Regions from separate parts of the Homo sapiens genome. Here regions 1, 2 and 3 are each linked to region 4. The links are contacts of gene promoters, found by promoter capture Hi-C in blood cells and fetal thymus (Javierre and others, 2016). All regions are on one chromosome and are shown on one strand. Each heading gives the region's core, a stretch centred on a gene start or on the middle of the fragment in contact. The rest is flanking DNA. Distances are from core to core; before and after follow the strand shown. Region 1 overlaps HPSE2 (heparanase 2 (inactive)). Region 2 overlaps HPSE2 (heparanase 2 (inactive)). Region 3 holds the start of PYROXD2 (pyridine nucleotide-disulphide oxidoreductase domain 2). Region 4 holds the start of HPSE2 (heparanase 2 (inactive)).

Region 1 (3,453 bases), core at 623-3,122, 610 kb before region 4:
TACATAATGAAACTGTATCATGATACAGTTATTTGTATATCATTTTAATTGTAAAATGATAAAAACTGTAAAATGATATACAAATTAAAGTTTTATTATTTTATAACCACTTCGAGCTTCAATTTCCTCACATGTAAGCTGGAATAATACCTGATAGGATTGTGTTAAGGATCTTTCCTTGTCAAAGGCCAAAGACACATACACTAGGCCAATCACAGGAAGATCCTGAGAGTTAGTGAAAAGGAGCACAGAACTAGCAGATAAACATTTATGTGGGTCCTTCTACGGTGATGCATGAATTCAGAGGAACTAGTGCCAATTATTCTTACGGTTTGGTGGTAGGATTCTGAACTACCATTTTCGATCCAAGTAAGAAATTCAGGAAATTTCCTAGAAACCTTGAACCATTAGCTCTTTGAAGGCAGGGAATACTTTTATTCACTTTTGTATTTACTTCCTATCAGAATGCCTGGCACAGAGTAAGTGCTTCACAGGAGACTGTGTGTAACACAAAGAAGTTAATGCAATTCCATACCTGCCCTTGCACAAGCTTACAGTAAACTGCTACTCCTTAAGGAAGTCATGTGACCTGATAAAGGGCGACTAAAACCTGATCAAAGAATTGGAAGCAATATGCTGACTGCAAAAACGACCTTAGAGATCAGGAAAAACATAAAATGAAAACCTATTACAACATGAAAGATCTAGAGAAGAGCAACATGCTTATTTGCCAAATCTCAGGATATCAGGCCTGGGGTTTTCTCCTTGATCTGAGAAGGAAAAGGAAAATTGTGCTTTGCTTAGCAGGTAATTTATGTATGGAATCCAATAACCTCAGAAGTGTTAAAGGTCAATTACCATACAAGGTGATTTGGATACCAGAAGGATTTTATGTGTTATCAAGCTCGTTATAATATTCTGATATTAAGAAAAGAAACAATCATGTATTTCCACATTTATCACTTGAGGATGTTTGCTGTAAGTACAATAAGTCTTCACTTAAAGTCATCAATAGGTCCTTGGAAACGGCAACTTTAAGCAAAAGAACGTATAATATAACCAATGTTGCTATAGGCTAAATGATACTAATAAGAATTAAGTTCCTATGACATATTTCTGGTCACAAAAACATCACCGAATTTCTAAATAAAGACCCCAAAACTTTTCATACTAATCACTGAAATAAGTGTGATCTATATACACATTTAAAACACATGAATAGGCCGGGCGTGGTGGCTCACACCTGTAATCCCAGCACTTTGGGAGGCCGAGGTGGGCGGATCTCAAGGTCAAGAGATAGAGACCAGCCTGGCTAACACGGTGAAACCCCGTTTCTACTAAAAATGCAAAAACAAAATTAGCTGGGTGTGGTGGCGGGTGCCTGTAGTTCCAGCTACTTGGGAGCCTGAGGCGGAAGAACTGCGTGAACCTGGGAGGAGGAGCTTGCAGTGAGCCGAGATCGCACCACTACACTCCAGCCTGGGCGACAGAGCGAGACTCCGTCTCAAAAAAAAAAAAGAAAAAGAAAAAAGAAAAAAGATGAATAAAAACAAGTAAGAAAATTACTTACCCAATTTTTGGTGAATCAGTGAGTGGCGGTAGTCATGGAGGTGGGGGGTTAAATCAAGGAATTTGTTTGCAAAGCAAAAAGGAGCACCTCCTACCACCAGGAAGTTCAAAAACAATCACAAATATGACAGACTTGTTGTGTGCTTTAGTGCCACATCGTTTATTGTACATTTGTATAATTATTGTAGACTTTACAAATTTTTATTTTACAATAATTTTTATTCATTCATTCATTTATTTTCCAACCCGCTTATACCAGTTCAGGGTTGAGAGTAGCCAGAGCCTATCTCAGAGGCTCAGAGTGCAAGGTGAGAACCAGCCATGGACAGGTTACCATTCCATTGCAGGGCCACTCATACCCACGCCCATACTCACTTGGACAGGGACCATTTAGACACCCAAGAAACCTAATGCAGTCTACATATTTGCAGGAGTATCCGGAGAAAACCCAAACAGACAGTGGCCCCAGCTGGGAATTGATTTTTTTTCCATCAATATTATAATAAAATGATGTTAAATGAAATGAAATTATTCAAGAACCTACTGTACTTAGTTGGATGGTGGCATGCCCAACTCAGAGGGGTGATTTGTATGAGATATTATTTTTCTTTTTTTTTTTCTCAAGACGGAGTCTCGCTCTGTTGCCCAGGCTGGAGTGCACTGGTGCAATCTCGGCTCACTTGCAAGCTCCCCCTCCTGGGTTCACGCCATTCTCCTGCTTCAGCCTCCTGAGTAGCTGAGACTACAGGTGCCCACCACCACGCCCAGCTAATTTTTTGTATTTTTAGTAGAGATGGGGTTTCACCGTGTTAGCCAGGACGGTCTCAATCTCCTGACGTCGTGATCCGCCCACCTCAGCCTCTCAAAGTGCTGGGATTACAGGCATGAGCCACCGCACCCGGCCGAGATGATTATTTTTCAAAAGGAGTTCAAACTCTAGCTCCTTTAAGTGAGGACTTGATTCCAGAAAACGGTTGGATTTATAAAATACTGTGTCTACAAGACCCTTCAAGGACATAGACTCTGTGTAAATAAAAGTTACGCCTGTAGCCCTACTACTTGGGAGGCTGAGGTAGGAGGATCACTTGAGGCCAGGAGTTTGAGACCAGCCTGGGCAACACAGCTAAATTCCTTGTCTCAAAAAAGAAAAACAAAAAATTAGCCAATCATGGTGGCTTGTGCCTGTAGTCCCAGCTACTCAGGAGGCTGAGGCAGGAGGCAGTGAGTTTTGTTCACACTACTGCACTCCAGCCTGCATGAGAGTCTCTTAAAAAATAAAAAATAAAAAAGTTAATCAGAATTCTCTTCTGACTTGCAGGGAGATTTGAAAGGAAACAATCTAAAATTGAGGAACAGTTAGGGGCATGGACTCTGGAGATGGATTGCCTGCATTTGAATTCTGGTTCTATTATTTACTTACTGCATGACTTTGAATGAGTTGTATTACCTGTCTGTGTTTCAATTTTCTCAGCTGTAAAATCAGAATCATATCTGCCTTAGAGGATTTTATGATATTTAAATTATATAATATTTATAAAGCAGTTGAAGTAGTGTCTGGCATATAGTAAGCACTTAGAGGTGTAAACCAAAATATTACCTAGACCACTCTCCTTGTCCAAGGCACATAAGCTTGTGTTTGAATGAATAACATCAGAGTTGGTTGTTTTTCCTTCAGACGTAGGACTTGTGGTGATAGGTAATAGCCCAGATGCATGCTAAGCAGCAGGAAAGGCCAGTTTAGAATTTAAAATGCACATGGATAACTCACACAAACATAATTATCATTCAGAGTAGTTCATTTATCCATTCTCAGCACAGGGGTAATTCCTGTCAAGCCACATGAACAAATATACACAGTGAGGAACAACTTTGATACAAAAACTA
Region 2 (3,289 bases), core at 707-3,206, 590 kb before region 4:
ATAACCTGTTCATAGTAGTACTTCTTCATTAGCACCTCTGATTTTTGGAAAAAGATCAGATACTTAATTAGCACCTCTGATTTTTGAAAAAAAGATCAGATACATGGCATACTACATGAAAGCCAGGCATGTTGAGACAGAGTAGTGTTAAAATTAAAAATAATTTATGCAATGCTAATCTAACACACATTTGAGGACATGAATACTTGCTACTATATTATATGGTGACCAGGAATTTGACAAGTAATGCATTGTAATTATTCTTTTATTATTTAATCAAATATATTACACTTTCCTCTTTTCTCAATTAGTTCCCAGTAACTACATTACACATCAGTATTTATAATTTTTGTTAGCAACACACATAGTTTAATACCTATTGAGATAAAAATTCCAGATGTAATTTTTCAGTAGGTAGGATTTCCTGTGAAGAACCTCCCTAGCCTACCCCAATCTGTGGCCCATGGTTGAGGGTCCCTTCATTCTTTTCCTCCTTCCTTTTCTCAAGTACCCAGAATCTGGAGTTAGAAAACCTTGGTTCAATCCCTTCTTTAAAGTGGGTTTTAAAAAACCCAAATCTACAATATTTTCACAGGGTTGGTGTACTGATCACATAAGCAAAAATGCTGGGCACGGGACCTGTCATATAAAAGCTATTCAATAACCAGATCTACTCTGTTCAGATTACTTAAGGGCCCAAGGCAGCAGAAACTTACACTGAAAGGCCATGGGATGGGATGGGCAGGGGAGCATCCCTCTGGAGGAGAGCATGCTATCCGCTGTAGAACTTGGAGTGAGGAAAGTGTAGAGCAGCAAGAACAGATGCTGGATTCCCAGCAGGTGTGAGGCAGAGGCAGGGATGGAGATGGCTGTGATTATGTTGTAAAAATTTGGAGTTTGAAAAGACCTTACTGGTCAGCTGGCCTAAAGCATGTAAGCTTGCTACAATATCCCTTAGAAGTGATTTTCTGGCTTTGCTTGAACATATCCAGGGACAAGAATTCACTGTCATACACTACTAGGACTGCTTCACTGCATCACAGCTCTAATTGACGAAAAGCTCTTCTGACATGGTGCTGAAATCTGATCCCTGTTACTTCCTCTCAATGGCTAGCATTATATCTTCTTGAACCCAGAAATGGTCCAATTGCTCCTTCATGTGATACATGGGAGATGAAATCCAGCAACCTTGGCTTAAGCAGTTTAGCCTATTCTTGTCCCCAGTTTTACCCTTACAAGCTGTATCCAATCATTCTCAGGTAATCTTGGGCTATTTCCGTGGGCTGTGAATTGGATTGGAGCGGGAGGAGATACAGGCATGGAAACCAATAAATAAAGTTATTTTATCTCAATAGTGCTGGCAAGAAATGATCTGGGTCTAAATAAGGGAGGGAACAAGAAAAGTGAAAGCAAGCAGAGATGAAGGAAGAACAAATAAAGCTTCTGTAGAGGGTAAAAGAGAGGAAGGGAGTCACTGATGACCATCAACATATAAGAGAGATTGCCTTGGAGAACACTGTTGCCAAAGAGATGTAGGTTAGTCATACAGGAATACAATTTGTTTAGAGAGATGAAAGATACTGTCTGACATATCAAAAATATACAGAATATCAAGAAAGAACTATATACCACGTAGCTGGGGATATAAGAAAGAGGTACAGAGAAAAGTTGAGACAAGAAATGTTGACGTGGGGGTCTTTTTCAGGTTGTAAGTAATGGCCAAAGCCATGGCTGCAGATGAACTCTTCAAGAGAATAAGGGAAATTAACAGAGATGTCAGAGACCCTTCAAAATGCTTCTAAAATATGGCCCTGGGCATTGCCTCTACCTTTGACCCAGCTAAGGACCCCTTCCTCCTCTAGCCTGATGATCACAGCATCTTTTTAATAACTTCAGTCTGAGTCCAATTCACATTTGAATGTCAAAGGAATCCTCACATTATACTGAGAAGTTTCAGCAACTTTCATTTGCAAACTTAAACCCACATTTATATTGTACTATGGAAATATGAACTTTGGTCATCCAGAATTCAGTATCACTTTTAAGAGAGGGGATCATTTAACCATAGGGTATGGCCAGGCGTGGTGGCTCAAGCCTGTAATCCCAGCACTTTGGGAGGCTGAGGCGGGCGGATCATGAGGTCAGGAGATCAAGACCATCCTGGCTAACATGGTGAAACCCCGTCTCTACTAAAAATACAATTAGCCGGGGCGTGGTGGGGGGCGCCTGTAGTCCCAGCTACTCCGGAGGCTGAGTCAGGAGAATGGCGTGAACCCGGGAGGCGGAGCTTGCAGTGAGCCGAGATTGTGCCACTGTACCCCAGCCTGGGCAACAGAGCAAGACTAGGTCTCAAAACAAAACAAAAACAAACAAACAAAGAAAAACCCATAGGGTATGAATTTATCAATGCCTAAACCTTTTTCTTAGATATGCTTGGACAACTAACTTACTGTACTTACCCATTGTAAATGTGAAGCTTCTAAGAAAACATTCAGCATCAACAATCCGTGGCTATTTGAAAGCTTCTTCCCAGTTACAGAGCTTTGGTTCACTGATGGTAGTTGCATGTGGTGATAGGTCCAATATAAATATATCATTTATATTTGGGCATGAAGGAGATGGAGTAGTCTGTGGTGACCATTTTATAAGAATAAATTGCTAAAAATGATGATAATGGTGATTTCTTTTTTTCTTTTTTCTTTTTTTTTTTTTAAAAAAACCCTGGCTGAATGGTCTAGAATTACCTAGACTGACACTTTTAGGTATATCATGGTCATCCTCCAAGCTCTCTTGAAATTCAGCATCACTTAAGATCATACCACAAGTCGTCGAGCTGTTCCACTAAAAACCAAAGCCAAGAAAGGCTGTGTAGAAATAACCTTTCTGGGAACTATCACAAAGGTAATGAAGTTGAAACTTTTGTATTAATACATCATCAAAAGGTCTGTCTCACCCAATGCCAGCAATTCATTCCTACCTCTAGATTGGCAGGTCATATCAAGCATATCTCTGGGGAAGTGGCAAAGATAGCAGACTATACAAAGTAAAAGGAACCACTTATCAATGTATTCACCAACTCTCCTGTCCCCCTTAATTTTACATTTTAGTTCCAGTACAATAATCTTCATCTTATTTTATTTGGTGTTGCCCTTTATTTTTATTACAAAAGAACTAAATGCTCATTGTAGACGAATTAGAGAATGAACATGAACAAAATAGAAATAGGAAAATGGAAAATCACCTACAGTATAATAAGCACAACACCTAGAGAAGCTCATTGCAACATTTT
Region 3 (3,286 bases), core at 756-3,255, 820 kb before region 4:
CTCATCTTGGTAACAGAAAAGGCTATGGTGGGAGTATTTACACCACTGTCATCAGCAAATATTACACAGAAGGGCTGAATTTATTTTTTGTGGTCAGGCTTAAGAAAGTGATGGGAAAATGCTAATAATGCAGATTAAACCTAACAGTGTTAGCTGTTATAGCATGAATAAATAGCACAAAAATTGAAGGAAATATTCTAGTATTAGAACAATATTATCTTATTTGAGTAACATCATTCCTGTCATTTAAAGAAGGAGGCCGGGCGCAGTGGCTCACACCTGTAATCCCAGCCCTTTGGGAGGCTGAGGCAGGTGGATCACAAGGCCAGGAGTTTGAGATCAGCCTCGCCAACATGGTGAAACCCCGTCTCTACTAAAAATACAAAAATTAGCCGGGCGTGGTGGTGGGCGCCTGTAGTCCCAGCTACTCGGGAGGCTGAGGCAAGAGAATCGCTTGAACCCAGGAGGCGGAGGTTGCAGTGAGCCGAGATTGCGCCGCTGCACTCCAGCCTGGGCAACAGAGCAAGACTCCATCTCAATAAATGAATAAATAAATAAAATAAAAATAAATTTTAAAAAATAAAGGAGTAAGGTTGGGACATAAATCTTTGTTGTTTCATTTGTTTCACGATCATCCTACTCTTTACAGAAAATATGGAGCACCGTTCTCTTTGGAGCTACCCTCATTTGTCATTTGCAACTATAGGTTGGCTACTGAGTTTGGCAAAAATCAAAGAAAGCCTTTGGTAAGAATCACTCGGGTAGACTGCATTTAAATTGAGAGTATTGTATCTTTATTTGTAAAATTGTGTGCAGTGTATCTTTTATTTCAATATTTAAAATAAGCATGTGTATATGTGTATATATATGTACGTAACACATATACATATATATACACATATATGTGTGTATATATACATATATATACATGTACACACACACATACATCACACATTTTTCCCTGGAGAGGTGAGTGTTGAGTATCTACCAGCTCGCAACTGCTCTAGTACATATGAAAATGAAGGCATGCCCTCAAAGCTGCATGTTGAGTGCCGTCTGCTTTCGGTCCCGTCATTATCTCTGTATAGACCCAGTTGGCAATCATGCATTTGGGGCCCTCTGCAAGTGTGAAAGGAAGGCACTAAGGAAAGACCACCTGGTCCTGGGCCTGCCTCTTCCCCTAGCACCCAGTAGACTGTGATACTCTGAGCCCAGGGGTTGGCAAAGTGTGGCAGATCACTGCAGATCCCCAAATGTCCCAGAGCTGCAAGGCAATGGGGTCCATCTCCCTCTGCAGACACGCAGTAGGAACTCTGGGACTCAGTTCTGTTTTATCCTAACTGGCCTTTATGAAATGACTGCAGTTTCTTGTGACGAGGGGTGGCCTCAGTGGTAAGGTAGTGGTGACCAGAACTCAGGGCACTGAGGGGGCGGGGTGCTGGATTTCACTTGTCTGTTGGCCCAGGGCTCTTTCCAACCCTTACAAACCATAGGCTGAGAATGTGGTGGAAACTAGGTCACTTTGCAAGAGATATAGGGAAACCCCTGAGCTCACCTAGTCTTCCTGTCATTCTCCATGGGAAGATCCAAGCCCAGAGAAGGCAAGCATTTGCCCCAGGCCACACAGCAGAGCCAGCACCGGAATCCCAGGTGCCTGCCTGCCAGATGGAAGGGCTTTCCATTGCAGCCCCTGCTAGCGTATAAACTTCTGGCTGGGTTATGCCAGAGGAGAGAGCAGTGGGGCTTGGCTCCCCCTCCCCCTCCCCACCAAGCTCTGAGCAGGGCTGTCTTCCCGCCCCTCAGCTCTGGCCCGGCCTGCTTTACCACTTTACCTGCTCCTATCACCACCGCATCATACTCAGGCTTCAGACCTCCCCTGGCTTCCGTGTTATCTCGTCTCCACGCCGGGAAGGGAGAGGCGGCCACAGCCTTGCAGAGACCTCGGCCACTTGCAGCCATTTCTGCCCCAGGCTGGGCCTTGCTAGGCAGGGAGTTTGCTAGCGATTGGCTTTTGTGCTGCCCTAGGCACGGGGTGGAGCAGGGAGGAAGCAGGAAGAGGAGGAGCTGCAGTCCCCCTCCAGGCCCCCTCCACCATGCATTCTTGGCCACAGGCCAGCCTCCTGCTGCCCTGGGGCTGTGCTGGGCCGTCGGGAGTGTTGCCTATTAACCAGGCGGTGTCACCTCCAGGATGCAGGGGATAATGGCAAAACTGACAATCCACTGGGGTTCCTATGTCAGGCTGGCATTGTGCTGAACCCTGTAGGCAAAACTCCCCATTTTACAGATGAGGGCGCTGAGGCTGCGGGGTTAGGGAATGAGTGGTGGAGGCAGAGTGGAGCTCGAAAGGGCCCTCTCCTCCCCTGTGCATCTACCTTCTCAGTCAGAACTGAAACGCCTGGGATGGCAAGTGCTCGTGTCAGACTCTGCTCCAACTCCATGCTGAGTCTGCCAGTGCAGAGTGGTGATGCCTCTACGCCCACAGGAGGCGCCCAGGGCGGCCATCTAGCGTCACCACGACCAGGGCCTTCAGACACCGCAGAGGCAGCTGTGTCTGTCGCTGAGGAGCACTGGAGTCCTCTCCTAAATGCTCAAACACAAACCCACAACGAGGGCTTAGGGGCAAGTTCGCTGTCTGTAATTCTCTGGTGTTTTAGTTTTGAAGGCCTGGCCAGTTCTCCTCTTTTGGCACCTTGCCCATTTTCCAAGAATCCCCAAGGATTCGAGGTCACATCTGTAAATACCTCCAGCTAAAGTTCTTTCTGACCCTCCCTTAGGCCTGCCTTGAATTAGGAGCCCCTTTGTTCTCTGCCCATTACTTAGCAGAGTGTTCCCCTAGGAGGAAAAAACCCCTTGGAGCGGAGAGTTCCTGCACTGCTCTGATATCGCAGTGTGACGGAAACCTGCTATTGGTAACGAATCTCAGAACTGGGAGAGTATGTGGAGATGATCCTAAGAGGGGGTTCCGAGGACCCCTCCACACACCATGGACAGTTACCCCGCATGTGAGCATCTCTGCTAAGATCTGATTCAGGATGTTCACTCCTGTGTTATTTATTATATAGAAAGATCAAGGGGACTGGTTAAACTAGACATATCACATCCAGCCGCTGCTAAAAACTAAAGGGAAATAGTAGGTGACAAAAGCAGGGGTCCTGAACAGTGGTGGGCTCAGGGGATTGGAGTTTTTTCCTTTATGTTTTTCTGTATTTTCCACAATCCACGCTTTTCATTGCCATTCCATCAGATGATGTTAAGGAGGAACACAGATCCAGTCACCTGAGGGGAT
Region 4 (3,349 bases), core at 803-3,302:
GCGTGGGCCTACTGTGGCAAAGGAGACGTCCGCGCGAATCCGGTCCTGGGGAAAGGGCAGTTCCAACAACCTTTCATCCAGAAGCCTGCACAGCCAATGCGAATGCGCCCCGCCAGGACTTCTTCCCCGAAAATCTGCCTTCCAGACTCTTTTCTGAGGCAGGAAAGCATTAGGCGAACAGGCAGATTTTTTAAAAAAAGAAAGAAAGCTGGTGGGGGAAAGGGGGTCTGCGCAGCTGAAGGAGTTCAATGAAAGTGGGACAAGCGTTGCGGAAAACTCCGTTGCACCCTACATTCGGACGAGCTCATAGACGCGCTCTGCTGCACGAAAGAGCTTTCGAAGAGGAAGCTGGGCCGCGCGGAGCTGGCTGTTCCGCCCTCGCGGCAACCGCACCAACAGGAACCGAAACGGCCTCGGCAAGGGCAGCTACAGCCTCTCAGTCCTCCGGCTACCTTTCCTCCACGTGGAAGGAGCGCTCCACGTGGCGCCTCCCGCTACCTGCCGCGTCCGCAGACCCGACCCGGGCCAGGGGGACAACCCCAAGAGCTGAGAGGCGGGCGCACCTCAAGAAGCAAAACTCGAATTTCGCAAGGAGTGAAAAATACGAAGGACGCACAACGGACCTGGCCTCGGGGCAAAGTGGGACTGAGAGCGCTGAGGGCTCTTCGAGGGGAACCCACAGCTGAGGCTCCAACTTGTAGGGAATTTTTAAAAACTCAACACTTGGATTCGACATTGCAGAGGATTTATTTCTTATTTTACACTGCAACTCTGTCCCTGATGGGAAGGGATCGCAGTTGCCTAACTGCCAAACTGCAACAACCCGGGAAGAGTGTGAGCCCAATTAGATTACAAGCCCTAGAGCAAAGGGGATCACAAACCTCCGGGTTTGCTAATCTGCTGGTGCGGAGTTCAGATCTCCGAAGCCTCCCTGGAGTATTTCTAGGACTCTTACCGCTTCCCTTATAACGCTGTGACCCCAGCGAGGATTTTTTTTTTCCTTTAAAGAAAAGCTAAACTGTGCAGTTACCGCAGGAGATTTAAGGAGGAGGAACTGGCGGGGGGAGGGGGGCATTCCGTCTATAAAAAGCGCCTTACAAAGTCCTGAAGTCTGGAAATGACAGCGGAGGATATAAAATAAAAAATTTTAACTCCGATCCAACTTGCCCACCACTCAAGCCTCTGCTTAAATTCGTTTTCTGAGAGTGGGAGAGAACTGACGAAACGATCTTTCCGTGGAAAATTCCAGTTTCGTGCAATCCCGCTTGAACACTCACACACACACACTCTCCTGTCTCACATACACACACACACACACACACACACACATACCCATTCCTTTCAGCTCTTTGTTGTTTGAGACCTTTTCTTCGCTTTTGTAACTGCTCTGAACCTCTTGTTTCTTTTTCAGAAGTAGACGGGAAGGCTAATTGTGGATATATGTAAGCACAACATTTTTTCAGTCATAACTGATAAGTTTCTGAAATGCCTTCTGCATTGCAAACATGTGCATCTTAATAGAAAACATTGCTTTTCTCAATCACTAGTTACAGCCTCACAGCACACAATCCAGGAGAAGGAAAACCTCTTTTCTTCTCTTTGAGAGATCTGCTTGGCTTATTTTCTTCTTTCCCCTTTGGAATGGGGGATAGGAAGGGCTTGAGGGGGTGTTACTAAAAAATTTTAAATGATCCATCGAAACCCCTGCCTTACCTTAGGAAATCGAGCCAGCCATCATGAATGATGGACGGATCCAGCTGCAGAGAGAGGAAGTTCTCATTGACTGTCCTGACTGGGTTCTTGGTGCTCACATCAAGTAGAATCAGGGTCTTTTCCTTCAAACCTGCAGCTCTGTCTACAGGCAAGGGTCTCCTGTCTCCAGCCTGGGAGGAAAGGGAGAGATGGAGCAACAGAGCCAAGTAGAGAGCCCCCGGGGCTAGGCACGCGGGGGGGCGGGAGTTGCTGGAGGGCATGGCTTCAGGGAAGGCACAAAGCACCCTCATTCAATCCCTCTGATTTAAACCTCTCTTCCTACTGGGTCTCGCTAGTGACTAATTGTCCTTATCTAAAGTGTGTGTCTGTCCGCCTTTTTCCCCCCTTTTTTTCCCTTCCTCCCACCACCCCCCCAACACACACACACTCTCTCTCTCTCCCGCTCTCTCTCTCTCTCGCTCGCTCGCTCGCTCGTTTTGTTTTTTTCTTTTTTTTTTTTAATTTTTTTTAATTTTTTTTTTCAGTGTTTTGGTGCTGGTGGAGCGAACTCACGCCCCTAGCCAGCCTTCCCCGTGACTCTTGCCAAGAGAACTCGTACACCGGCACCGCCCCTTTAAGAGATTTCTACTGCAGACATTTTTTAACTTTTTAAAGGTAAGGGGAGGGGAGCAGGCGGGAAGGAGGAGAAAAGGGTGGCGTTGTACCCTCCTAATTTAACCCTCTAGGGTCAGGAAGCAGAGGGAGGAATCCAAACCATGCCGTTGTACCGTCTGGGTACAGAGCAAAGGGTCTCGTTTTTACGTCCTTCCCTGAGAGGCTCTGGAGGGCGGTTCAAGCTCCGACTCCGACCCGAAAGCCCCAGCGCCAACCCGGGACGCGCTGGGATAGAGTTCCCACCGACAGCACGCTTGTTTCTCCTGACAGCGTCAGGCACTTCGTCCGCTCAGGGCCCTTTTCTGGTTGAAGCAGCAATACCAAGGGCGGTTAAGTTGCAGAGGGGTCTTGAGGCGGTGATTCCTGTCAAAGCATAGAGCCCTGAAGGACATTCCCCGAAGAGGAGCCCTGATCTCTGTGACGCGTTGGATAGCCACACCGAAGCATCCTCTGACCTCCATAGGGCAAAGAGTAGCAAGAAGGAAAAACATAGTGACCTGGTCAAGCAGCTTTTCCGATCCGAGGGCCAAAAGGGACATGCGCCCTCGCTCTGCTCTGCTCTTCCCGCAACCGAGGAATAAGCGTCTTGGGAGCGTCAATACATGCTGGCTTTGGCCAAGTCGAAGCTACCTGAGCTGTGCTTGGATAGTCAGGGCGGCTCTGCGTCCAACTGTGCCACTTCTTGGCCACTCTATTCTGCTGCACAGGTAGAGTCCCCCCTCCAGACCCTCCTGGAGGTCAATCCTATACTTAGCCCTCCTGCAGGGAAGTGCGCCTTTACAGTGCCAGATGGGACCATAGTGACACTTTCGGGTTTCCATCTCGGCCCCCAGTCAAAACCAGAGTCACATAGCCCTGGATGGGGAATAACAGCCGGAAGCCGCTGTGATGCACGACCCGCCGCTGCTCATTGAGCTTCCACCCCACAACAGCTTGCAAATTGAACTCTAGGTCCTATCCTGAAGCGCGGGAAAGGGATCAG

What was found. The method cuts DNA at HindIII sites, captures the fragments that hold promoters and counts their contacts. A CHiCAGO score of 5 or more calls a contact.
Region 1: a contact is called between a fragment that was not itself captured here and the fragment with the promoter of HPSE2 in region 4, in 1 of 17 cell types (M1 macrophages). The highest score is 5.9, in M1 macrophages.
Region 2: a fragment that was not itself captured here is called in contact with the fragment with the promoter of HPSE2 in region 4 in 1 of 17 cell types (M1 macrophages); the score reaches 5.0 in M1 macrophages.
Region 3: a contact is called between the fragment with the promoter of PYROXD2 here and the fragment with the promoter of HPSE2 in region 4, in 3 of 17 cell types (megakaryocytes, M1 macrophages and total CD4 T cells). The highest score is 6.5, in megakaryocytes.

Annotation. Positions count from the first base shown.
Region 1 is chr10:98,624,600-98,628,052 of GRCh38, forward strand. The region is part of intron 7 of HPSE2 (heparanase 2 (inactive)); the gene reads right to left. Among named protein-coding and RNA genes, the nearest start is that of HPS1, 180 kb to the left of the region's middle. The HindIII fragment of the contact is 2,648 bases long and covers 549-3,196 here.
Region 2 is chr10:98,643,624-98,646,912 of GRCh38, forward strand. All of the region lies in intron 6 of HPSE2 (heparanase 2 (inactive)), which reads right to left. Among named protein-coding and RNA genes, the nearest start is that of HPS1, 200 kb to the left of the region's middle. The HindIII fragment of the contact is 1,036 bases long and covers 1,439-2,474 here.
Region 3 is chr10:98,413,177-98,416,462 of GRCh38, forward strand. It overlaps PYROXD2 (pyridine nucleotide-disulphide oxidoreductase domain 2), which reads right to left and starts at 2,006. Exons shown (of 16, transcript NM_032709.3): 1 at 1,833-2,006. The coding sequence starts at 1,959. It overlaps HPS1 (HPS1 biogenesis of lysosomal organelles complex 3 subunit 1), which reads right to left. Exons shown (of 20, transcript NM_000195.5): 20 at 3,022-3,286. The HindIII fragment of the contact is 3,850 bases long and covers 1-3,286 here.
Region 4 is chr10:99,233,800-99,237,148 of GRCh38, forward strand. HPSE2 (heparanase 2 (inactive)) reads right to left here and starts at 2,053. Exons shown (of 12, transcript NM_021828.5): 1 at 1,714-2,053. The coding sequence starts at 2,003. RefSeq lists a silencer at 363-482 and enhancers at 2,630-3,130, 3,131-3,349. The HindIII fragment of the contact is 7,443 bases long and covers 1-3,349 here.